2 separate regions of the Homo sapiens genome follow, and region 2 is linked to region 1. Evidence: promoter capture Hi-C in 16 types of primary human blood cells and fetal thymus (Javierre and others, 2016). All regions are on one chromosome and are shown on one strand. Each heading gives the region's core, a stretch centred on a gene start or on the middle of the fragment in contact. The rest is flanking DNA. Distances are from core to core; before and after follow the strand shown. Region 1 holds the start of RPL23A (ribosomal protein L23a). Region 2 holds the start of HES7 (hes family bHLH transcription factor 7).

Region 1 (4,106 bases), core at 56-2,555:
TGAAGGGAGAGGGAAGAAGAAAGGATCAAGTGGGGATGGGTTAGGCACACACCTTAGGAGAAGCGAACCTGAGTGTTAAGAAACCTTTCTCTGTGTCTGGAGCTGAATTTGAGGATGTAAAGATGACCAGGACACGGAAGGGAAGACTAGTTTAGGGCAGGGGATTGTGAGTGAAGTTACTAACCGGAAAAACTAGCGAATCTTGGAGAAATGTGTGGAATTTTCATAGAACTTCAAATGCATTATCAGGAAACGCAGTAAAACTTGACAGTATCAGTGTCGCAGGTAAAGAGGGGCAGGTGTGGCCGCCTTGTACTTCCTCTGACACTTCCCCCTCGTGACTCGATTATTTATTTATTTATTTATTTATTTATTTTGAGACAGGGTCTCACTCTGCCACCCAGGCTGGAATGGCTCATTGCAGCCTCGACCTCCAGGGCTGAAGCGATCCTCCCACCTCAGCCTCCCAAGGAACTGGGACTACAGGCACGCACCACCACGCCCGGCTAATTTTTGTATTCTTTTGTAGAGACAGGGTTTCGCCGTGTTGCCCAGGGTGGTCTCGAACTCCTGGGCTCGAAGCAATTCGTCCACCTCGGCCTCACAAAGTGCTGGGATTACAGGCGTGAGTCACCGCGCCCGGCCCTGACTTGATTTTTTTCTGCCACCAAATCACTGTGTTATTGATAAACCACATTCCTCTCTGGACCTCAGTTCGACCGAGCAAATCCTGCTCCAGCACTCTAGAACTTAGCTGTATCTAACTCCCGAGTCAATCCAAATGTGTTCTTTCCTCTTGGCAGCGTTCCTGCCTCCTGGCATGGCAATCCTCTTCCCTGAGACTGGCAGTTGCTCAAGATAGGAAGCTCCCGGGACCAGACCCGAGCGCCAGCCGGCTACGCCGTCCGCTGGCCTGAGCAAATAAACGCGTGTCTTCAAAAAACTACAATCCCCATGGTGGCACGCGCCTGTAGTCCCAGCTACTCTGGTGGCTGAGGCAGGAGAATGGCGTAAACCCGGGAGGCGGAGCTTACAGTGAGCCGAGATCGCGCCACTGCACTCCAGCCTGGGCGACAGAGCGCTCAAAAAAAAAACAAAAAACAAAAAACAAAAAACTACAACCCCCATGAAGCTTTAGTGCCTTTGAGGGGAGGAGTGGCGCATGTTTGTTCACGCACGAAAAAGAAATTAAACCTAACTACCGTTCCCAGAGGGCGCCGCTCTGCAAATTACCCAATCAGCTCTAAGTACAAAGCATCGCGAGTCTTTAGTGCTCTTTGGCGCTATAAGCCCGTGGGAACGAGCATTGGAGACCCTTTTCACAAGATGGCGCCGAAAGCGAAGAAGGAAGGTGTGTGTTGGTGATGGGGCCGCAGCTGGTTTACCGGGGATTGCCGCGCCGCAGAGCGAACGAATTGGGAACACGGCTGCTGGGCTAAGCCCTGAGGGCTCTGCTCCGGGGCTGCTCCCTGCGTTTCGGACACGCTGCAGTATACGTGGGCCGCGTGGGCCCAGCCTCGTGGGCTGAGTTCCGGTAGAGGGAGTTGGGGGGGGGCAACGCGGCAGGCATCATCCGCCAGGGAGGGCCAGACATTCGGTTCTGGGAAGCTACATGCATCCACTGGTTGGAGCTCCATGTCCCCGGGCCTGTAAGGAATTAGTGCCCTCAGCTTTAACCATTTTCCTTCTGGTTCATGTTCAACCGGGCTACATTACCCGCCCCTCTCTCCGCAGCGTGGTTTTGCGATGGGGTATGTGTAAAATTCGTAGGACATTTTCTGGAAAGTATCAAGCGTTCATTCAGTGCTACTTTGTTTCATAGTCGTATCCCTGGAGTTACTTAGAGTTGGTCGCTTTCGCCTCTGGTATCGTGCATATGATGGAAAAGTTTTAATCTCCTGACACTTGTGATGTCTTCAAAGGAACCACTGATGCACCTGTGGCCAGGGTGGCCCACTGCAGTTCTTGGGGCCGGAAGTGACCGATTTCTAAATCCCGCACCCACGTTTTCTTTCCTTTTCTCCCAGCTCCTGCCCCTCCTAAAGCTGAAGCCAAAGCGAAGGCTTTAAAGGCCAAGAAGGCAGTGTTGAAAGGTGTCCACAGCCACAAAAAGAAGAAGATCCGCACGTCACCCACCTTCCGGCGGCCGAAGACACTGCGACTCCGGAGACAGCCCAAATATCCTCGGAAGAGCGCTCCCAGGAGAAACAAGTCAGTACTGCCCCCTGTACCCATGAAAAGATTTGGGTATTCTCCATTGGTAATTTGGAAATTCACTCACTCTGCGTGATGGTTTCTCAAACGCAAATTGTGTCCAGTGTGCTTCTCTAATTGGAAGTATGAGGAGATTGTTTCTGCTGCATTTACAAAACTGGCAGGATCAGCCCAGAGGCCGGGCGCGGTGGCTCACGTCTGTAATCCCAGCACTTTGGGAGGCCGAGGGGGGGCGGATCACTTGAGGTCAGGGGTTCGAGACCAGCCTGAGTGACATGGAGAAACCCCGCGTCTATTAAAAATAGAAAATTCGCCGGGCATGGTGGCGCATGTCTGTAATCCCAGCTACTCGCGGGAGGCTGAGGCAGGAGAATCGCTTGAACCCGGGAGGTGGAGGTTGCGGTGAGCGGAGATCGTACCATTGCATTCCAGCCTGGGCAATAAGAGTGAAACTCTGTCTCAAAAAAAAAAAAACCCTGAGTCTCTCAAAATTTGTTAGGTTAATTATTGCTTCACATGTGGTCACGGTTTGAAAACTTATTTTGGGGGGAGTATAAAGTAGAATACAGAGATTCCTTGCTCATAGCTCCTACTGCTATCGGGAACAATCCTTGAGGGTGAGAACGTGGATTGATTCTTGATTGATAGTGGGGATTCCATTATCTGTATTTGGCAGTTATGGCCTGCTGCGGTGTATAGAAGCTTCTTTCCATTCATTTTCCCGAATTTTCATACTGCTCAAGGAACAGTTGGGGGGGAATGGGCAGAAGGTTGGGCACTTGAGTATTTGAGCTATCGGTAATAACTGACTTTTTAGGGAGCACAGATTTGAGTAGAGCCATGGTAGTAGTTAGTACCAATGGGTTTTTGCTGCTTCTACTCTTTCTTAACAGAAAAAGTGGATTGTGTTCATATAGGAAAGCAGTTCACAGACTGTCTTCCTGCCCCTCCCGCCACCAAGCTGGACCTAGAATCAAGTGTGACTTTAAATGGGGAAAGCTGTGTTACAGTTGTGCTTAAGCCACTGCTGTGGCTTAACCTCACCTATGCATAAGAATTTGCTCGTGGCTGGCCGGGCGCGGTGGCTCGAGCCTGTAATCCCAGCACTTTGGGAGGCTGAGGCGGGCGGATCACGAGGTCAGGAGATTGAGACCATCGTGGCTAACACGGTGAAACCCCGTCTCTACTAAAAATACAAAAAAAATTAGCCGGGCGTGGTGGCAGGCGCCGCTAGTCCCACTACTGAGTCCCAGGCTGAAGCAGGAGAATGGTGTGAACCCAGGAGGCGGAGCTTGCAGCGAGCCGAGATCCTGTCACTGCACTCCAGCCTGGGCGAAGCGAGACTCTGTCTCAAAAAAAAAAAAAAAAAAGGAATTTGCCCCTGGCCCGATTCTCCTGCCTCAGCCTCTTGAGTAGCTCGGACTACAGGCGTGCACCACCATGACCAGCTAATTTTTGTATTTTTAGTTGAGAGGGAGTTTCACCATGTTGGCCAGGATGGTCACGATCTCTTGACCTCGTGATCAGCCTGCCTCAGCCTCCCAAAGTGCTGGGAATACAGCCATGAGCCAGCACACCTGGCCCAGAGATGATTCTTTAATCACTTGAGGTTGTAAGAGCCCTTCAAGAGAAAGAAAATGCACAACGTTCTGCCCCTGGGATTGGGGCTTCAGGCCCTTAGATTTCAGGGTGCAGATGATGACACTGTAAAGCGACCAAAGTCTGAACAAAGTGATTGGTACCTCGTTGTCTGATGCACCTAGGCTCTCCTGGCTCTGGGCTCCAAAAGAATGGGCCCAGGCCAGGTGACCCCATTTTGCCTCTCCCAGGCTTGACCACTATGCTATCATCAAGTTTCCGCTGACCACTGAGTCTGCCATGAAGAAGATAGA
Region 2 (6,149 bases), core at 260-2,759, about 21 Mb before region 1:
GGGGATACTCCTATGACCCAAGATAATACGACAAAAAAAAAAAGTAAACTAGGACACTACCAATTATTTGTGCTTTTCCTACCGGATAATTGAGTCCTATAACACAGTGTTAAGAGAACGTACAATAAATTATTTAAATATGTTGGAAGTTGAGCTAACATTTGAAAACATGTTAAAATAGAGATGTTATGAAGAAACGAAATAATAGAGATGTTATGAAGAAACGAAATATTGCTTCAGCAGTTACCATCAGGTCTTAGCTTCTGGGATGGATGCAGGCCTATGATCTCTCTGGAAGACCAAACACGGAAGATGATGGTGAAACCATTACCAGGGGAATTCGTAAAATTACTTTCTGCATGTAAATAGGTGTAACCTCACAGAACTGTTAACAGAACTGTAGCAGGTGCGTAATCCACCAGAAAAACTCCAGCCTGGCAGCGGTGGGATTCGAACCCACGCCTCCGAAGAGACTGGAGCCTAAATCCAGCGCCTTAGACCGCTCGGCCACGCTACCTGCACGAAAACTTACTGTCCCCGTTGTCCTCCTAAGAGACTAGAAGTAAGGAATGGGGCAAATCTTAAGAGTGCCAAATTGATTCGTCTCCTTTTCCACATCTTTTAGACTGGAAATGAAGAACCATCGAGACTGTGGACCGCATAGCAGCAGATGGCAGAACAGATAAACGAGAAGAGACAAAAACACACAGAAATTTACAACAAAACTAGTTTATTTGGGTGGGACTATATCTGGGAGTGGGGAGCGCCTGAGCCGGAAACACCCCCCAAGCGGGCAGCCGGAGCTCTGCACTCGCTCGCTCAGCCATTTTCGGTTGCTCTCCCTCCCTGTTTTTTCGACCCATGTGCGCCCTCTCTCTCACCTGGCTAACATGCTTTGCGCCCGCTACCTCTACCTGGCTTGGCCTCTGAGATCCAAACCGCGCCCTCCTGGCATGTCCCGCCCAAGTCCCTTAGCCCCGCTCCCCAACCCTGCCCCATTCCCACTCTAGTACCCGTAAGCTACAAGACGCCGCCGTTCGTCGGGTGGCTCTGTGGCGCAATGGATAGCGCATTGGACTTCTAGTGACGAATAGAGCAATTCAAAGGTTGTGGGTTCGAATCCCACCAGAGTCGATTTTATTTCAATTTTTCCTTTTTATCCGTTTTTTTCTTAAAGGCCCCCATCCCTTCTCCCCCTACCCTATCTCTCTCTTTCCACCTGGTTTCAATTTCGATCTCAGTTCCCGCTCTGCTCTCTTCTTTACTTACCTGTCTGCCCCGGGGCTTGGGCCATGGAGAGCAGGACTGAGGGTGGGAGACAGAAGGGAAGGGAAAGTGGGCGTGGACGTCGAGATAAAGGCAGGCCCCTGGCTCGGGGACACACGGGGATTTAATAACCACTTTATTCCATGCACTAGGGACTCGGGAAGGGACTGGGACTGGGCTGAGGGGCAGAGAGAGTACAATCCTAGACGCAAGGGAGAAGTTGGGGCAGGGAAAAGGGACAGGAACCAGGGAAATATATATTTATATAGATACTCTAATATAGACCACATCTCACCCGCGCGCTGAGCCCGCGCGCCCCACTGCCCTCCCCAACACCTGCTCGCCCGGACGCCCGGGTCCCTCTGCTGCCCTCGGGCTGGAGTCTCTACCCCACCCCTAGACCCCGCCCCCACCACCCCCCAAGGCTCAGGGCCAAGGTCTCCAGAAAGCGGGCGGCGGGGGCAGCGGGGCCTTGGGCGCCCCGTCTTGTCTGTGAGGCGGCGGTGGCGGCGGCAGCAGTCCGGTGAGGGGCGCCGGCGCGCCAGAATCCCCGGCGCGCGGGGAGCAGAGGGATGGGGACCATGCGCAGCGCGGGCTAGGGTGGCCCTGGTGCACTGGGGGGCGCTGGTGCAGCGCAGGGCCAAGGGCCGGTGCGGCGGGGTCCAGGGATGGGCGCGGCGCTGGAGGCCTCGGATCTACCGGCTTGGGCCGGGGCGGTTTGGGGCGCAGATAGCCGTGCAGCGCGGAGAAGAGCTGGGCGCGGGCGGCCGGGCTGGCGTCGTGCGCGAAGGCCGCCAAGCGAAGCAGGCACTCGCGGAAACCGGACAAGTAGCAGCTGGCGAGCGCCTCGGCGTCCTGGACTGGGGACCGGGGAACCCCTGGAGCCGCGGCGGCTGGTGCGGCCGGCGGGAGCACAGGTGGGCAGGGCAGGGGCCCGGCAGGGGTGAGGGAAGGGGCGGGGCGCAGAGATACCAAGGCCGGACAGGCGCACAGAGACAGGAAGCCAGATGGACGGAAAGAGGGAGAAAATGAGGGAGACACAGAGACAGACACGCGCGGGTGTTATTAACCTCGCCTCGGAGCAGAACCGGCCACTCCCCAAGCCCACCATCCACCGCAGGGCCCGCCCACTCTGCCCCGGCCGGAGCCTCCTGGCGTCCCCCCTCCCTCCCTCCGCTGCCCCACCCCCGCGCTGTACCCGGGGGCTCCACCCGGCTTCGCTCCCTCAAGTAGCCCACGGCGAACTCCAATATCTCCGCTTTCTCCAGCTTCGGGTTCCGGAGGTTCTACAGACGGGAGGGGAGGGCGCAGAGACAGAAAGGGGTGGGGAGAAAGGGGGAAAGTGGCAGGGGGAAGAAGGGAGGGACGGATGCGGGAGCTGGTGGTGCCCCCGATCGCATTTGCGCACTGCCCACAGAACGCGCGACCAAATGCGGAGTGGAGATGACCAAGGAAAGTCCTGGCCCACCCTGAGACGAAACTGTCCAATCCTAGGGGTTGGAACCAATGCCCAACGCGTGAGGAGGAGATTTGAAACCGCAACCCAGGGAATGAAATTAACCACCCGACATAACAGAGGCTGGCTCATCAGAGGCTGGCTGTGGGGGAGGGGGAACCGGACACTTAGAGACCCAAAGGGTGAAACTGACCGACCCCGGGAGCGAAATTTACAGAACCAGGCGTGAAACTTACAGACCCGAGGGGTGGCGAAGAAGATCGCGTTCTGAGAGCGAGTGGGGGTCTGGGATGGAATTCCAAAGGCGGGACTCGGGTGAGGATGCCTTGGGGCCAGGGTTGCCAACCAAGCTTGTGTCCCCACCCCAGTGGGAAGCCCTGGGACGCGGAAACGGGAAGCTTGGGGACCTAGGGCTAGCGGAGGGACTGACCTGGTCCCGGGTCCGCTCCAGCAGCAGCAGCCTCAGCTCTTCCAGGCTGCGGTTGATGCGGTCCCGGCGCCGCTTCTCCACAAGCGGCTTGAGCATCTGCGACCAGCGAGAAAAGGAGAGCGGGCCGACCAGACCGAGACTCAGTGCGGCCGCCCCGGCGTCGGATCCCGCCGCTGGGAGAGCCCGGCTTCCACCCCGGCCACAAGACCCCAGATTGCCTAGGGCCGGCCCCATTCGATCCCTCTCCGCTCCCCCTCCCAATGCCCCTAGATCAGTTTCTGTAGCTCGCCTCCCCGGATCTTCGCATTCTCCTCTCTCAGTCTCGTCCTCCCTCCTCCCCTCTCTGTGTCTCTCCTCCTCTTTTCTCTCTACGTCTCCGTCTGGTGCAGTTTCTCTTTGTCTCAGTGGAGAACTTTGGGGACTCTCTGCGCGCACGCACGTGCGCCGCACGGTGCCGGGCTCAGACCTGGCGGCCCTGAGTATAGAAAGGGAGATACCTAGCGCGACCGCGCCGCCTCTTTTCCCTCAAAACCCTCCAGGCCTTCACCTTCTCCACGGTTCTCCTAAAATCTTCCACCAGTCTGGGGCCTCTGGAACCAACGCCCCGGGACCTTCTGTACAAGACCGCCTTGGGCCAGCCCCGCCCGGCTCACAGCCAGAGTGGAGCAAGTGCCTATCCTCTTCTCTTTTCGTTCCCACCCTCCTCCCTTGGCTCTGCCCTCTAATTGCTTATTTTACTCCAACACCGGCCCCCTCCCCAGGCCACAAGGTGCCGACACCCATTACCGAGGCCCCTAGTCCTATGTTCCCGCCGCCCACTCAGGTCTGGCTCTGACCCCTGTCCCCTTCTTCATATTTTGCAGCTTCCTCTCCAGCTTCTGGCTCCTGGAGTTCTGGAGCACCGCTCCCCTTCCACCCCTGCGTCCCCAGCCTCTCTCCAGACCGACGGCGTCAGGGGCCCAGTCCCCTAGCCAAACCAGGGACCTCTGCTCCCTCCCCTCCCGCCTCTCACCTTGGGGCCGTCCCTATTCTCAGCTCGATCCCGGGTGACCATTGCTCCTCCGGACCCTGTGTGGACCGGTTCCCTGCTCGCCTGGAGCCTTATATTCCGCGGCCCAAGGGTAGGAGGGATAGGACCCGACCCCGCCCCCTTCGACATCCAGATTCTGCCCCTCTAGGACCCGGCACGAGGCTCCCGGAAAGAGGAGGAGTGAAGGGGGGAGGGGAAGGAGAGAAACTGGCCTGGGAGTGCGGGAAGTGAGGGGTGAATGGGGGCACTGGCTGGTTTACAGACCGTAAGGCTGTATAAGGAGGCGGGACCCAGCTGAAAGGAGGAGGCTATTGGGGCAGAGCTCGCTTGGGGATGAAATTCAGAGTTCCTCCAGAATTGCAGCTTTCTGGGAGGCTTACTGTACCCTCACTAACCCTGAAATAGAAGTTAGCACCTCTCAGCCCCCAGGCTGAATTTTATACATCATCTCCGAAGTTCGCTTCCTAGTCGAGACAGGGAGCAACCCGAGTGCGCTGGGTGAATCTGTCCGACTCAACCGAAGCTCTGCCGGGAGGTTGGAGAGGCGCTCTCTTCTATCTAAGCCAGTTACATTCAAGTCCGCGAACATCTGCGCGCCCACTCTGCGGACAGGGCACTTGTCTAGGCTCGGGCGAGTCATAGTGAGATACGCAGGAGAGACCCAGCTTATCCCTGCAGGATCTAATGGAAAAGACCATGTGACACCAAGTAGCTATTACAGAAGCCCAGTGAAGTAGGTGCTCCGGGAAAAGGTCTCCTTAAGGATGGCTGGACTGAGGAGGATCTTCAAGGCAGAGGGAGCAAGTCTTTGAAACATAGGTATGAGTGGAGAGGTCTTTCCACTTACAGTACAAGTATTTGATTCAAAACTAGTCATAGGAGATTCAGGAGTGTGGCTGATAGGACACCTCACGCAAGTGTGCCCGCATTGCTTGCTTCTGGAGGCCCCTGGTGACTGTAGGGTAGCAGGGAGCAGGCAGTTTACTAAGGGGAAAGCAAGGGGTACAAAAAAGGGATCAACACCCACCTCAAACCAAGAGCATGACCCTCCGCAGAACGATGCCTGACCACTCGAGGGCTTCAGGACAAAGTGTCTGAGAAGATAAATCAGAAACTGAAGGGAACAGCCAGGTTGCCAGGGATAAAGACACGGAAAGACAGGGTTGCAGACCGAGACGGAAGACAGCTGTGAAATCAGAGACCAATGGGGTTTCCTTCAAGCCCTCCCAACGGCCCTCCGCACCTTGGTTTTGTCACGAAGCCTTTCTTGCCATCATAGCCCGAGCCGGGAGAGGCACAGACCTTGAGGAGGGGGCTCCCATTTGGGATCAGGGCCCCCAGCACATCCCACCTCTCCGTCCTTCAGCCAAATGGGAACGCAAATGTGTGTCCCCATCAGCCCCCGCCGCCCCCCTCCTTGGGAACCTGGGCTCGGGCTGAATTTTTCTCACCTGCACGCGAGGCTGGGGGCCCCCGGCTGTTCGCACCCGGGTGTGGGGCCGCCCCTGGCCATATGGGGCGGCTTTATGGCCCGGTGGCCGGATCCGGACGAGAGGAAGGATGACTTGGCGCTCCACCCACGGCAACCATTCGGGACCACTTCCCTGGCCTACACCGTTGCCTGTCCGGGTCCGCCTCAACCTCTTACAATCTCAGATAGGATCCCCGCAGAATCTTTAAGCCGCGCATTGGTGGTTCAGTGGTAGAATTCTCGCCTGCCACGCGGGAGGCCCGGGTTCGATTCCCGGCCAATGCACGAGTACAGTTTTCTTTTCTCCCCTCCAAAAAAAGGATAATATATTTGGTAGCATTTCTAAGAAACATCTTCACTTAAATATTTCTACCAAATATTAATCTTAACCTTTTGACTATAGCAGAGTTTGCAGCCCCAGGCCTAAACGATTCCGCACGCCCTCGCACTCCCCTCCTCCCAGCATGGGGGTCCTGCAGCCTCCACACCCCCCTCC

The links. Contacts are between HindIII fragments. The CHiCAGO score rates a contact against its expected background, and 5 or more counts as called.
Region 2: a contact is called between a fragment that was not itself captured here and the fragment with the promoter of RPL23A in region 1, in 1 of 17 cell types (activated CD4 T cells). The highest score is 8.0, in activated CD4 T cells.

The regions. Positions count from the first base shown.
Region 1 is chr17:28,718,680-28,722,785 of GRCh38, forward strand. RPL23A (ribosomal protein L23a) reads left to right here and starts at 1,306. Exons shown (of 5, transcript NM_000984.6): 1 at 1,306-1,351; 2 at 2,028-2,211; 3 at 4,044-4,106. The coding sequence starts at 1,327. It overlaps SNORD42B (small nucleolar RNA, C/D box 42B), which reads left to right and starts at 1,871; the gene lies at 1,871-1,937. It overlaps SNORD4A (small nucleolar RNA, C/D box 4A), which reads left to right and starts at 3,903; the gene lies at 3,903-3,974. RefSeq lists enhancers at 1-562, 563-1,164, 821-870, 1,301-1,520, 1,861-2,020. The HindIII fragment of the contact is 1,784 bases long and covers 1,131-2,914 here.
Region 2 is chr17:8,119,879-8,126,027 of GRCh38, forward strand. HES7 (hes family bHLH transcription factor 7) reads right to left here and starts at 4,228. Exons shown (of 4, transcript NM_001165967.2): 1 at 4,165-4,228; 2 at 3,153-3,248; 3 at 2,465-2,552; 4 at 714-2,159. The coding sequence starts at 4,206. The coding sequence ends at 1,693. It overlaps TRL-TAG1-1 (tRNA-Leu (anticodon TAG) 1-1), which reads right to left and starts at 517; the gene lies at 436-517. It overlaps TRR-TCT2-1 (tRNA-Arg (anticodon TCT) 2-1), which reads left to right and starts at 1,047; the gene lies at 1,047-1,134. TRG-GCC2-6 (tRNA-Gly (anticodon GCC) 2-6) reads left to right here and starts at 5,868; the gene lies at 5,868-5,938. RefSeq lists silencers at 363-572, 1,513-1,972, 2,193-2,302, 5,747-5,796, 5,907-5,956 and enhancers at 4,086-4,606, 5,883-6,149. The HindIII fragment of the contact is 3,122 bases long and covers 1-3,070 here.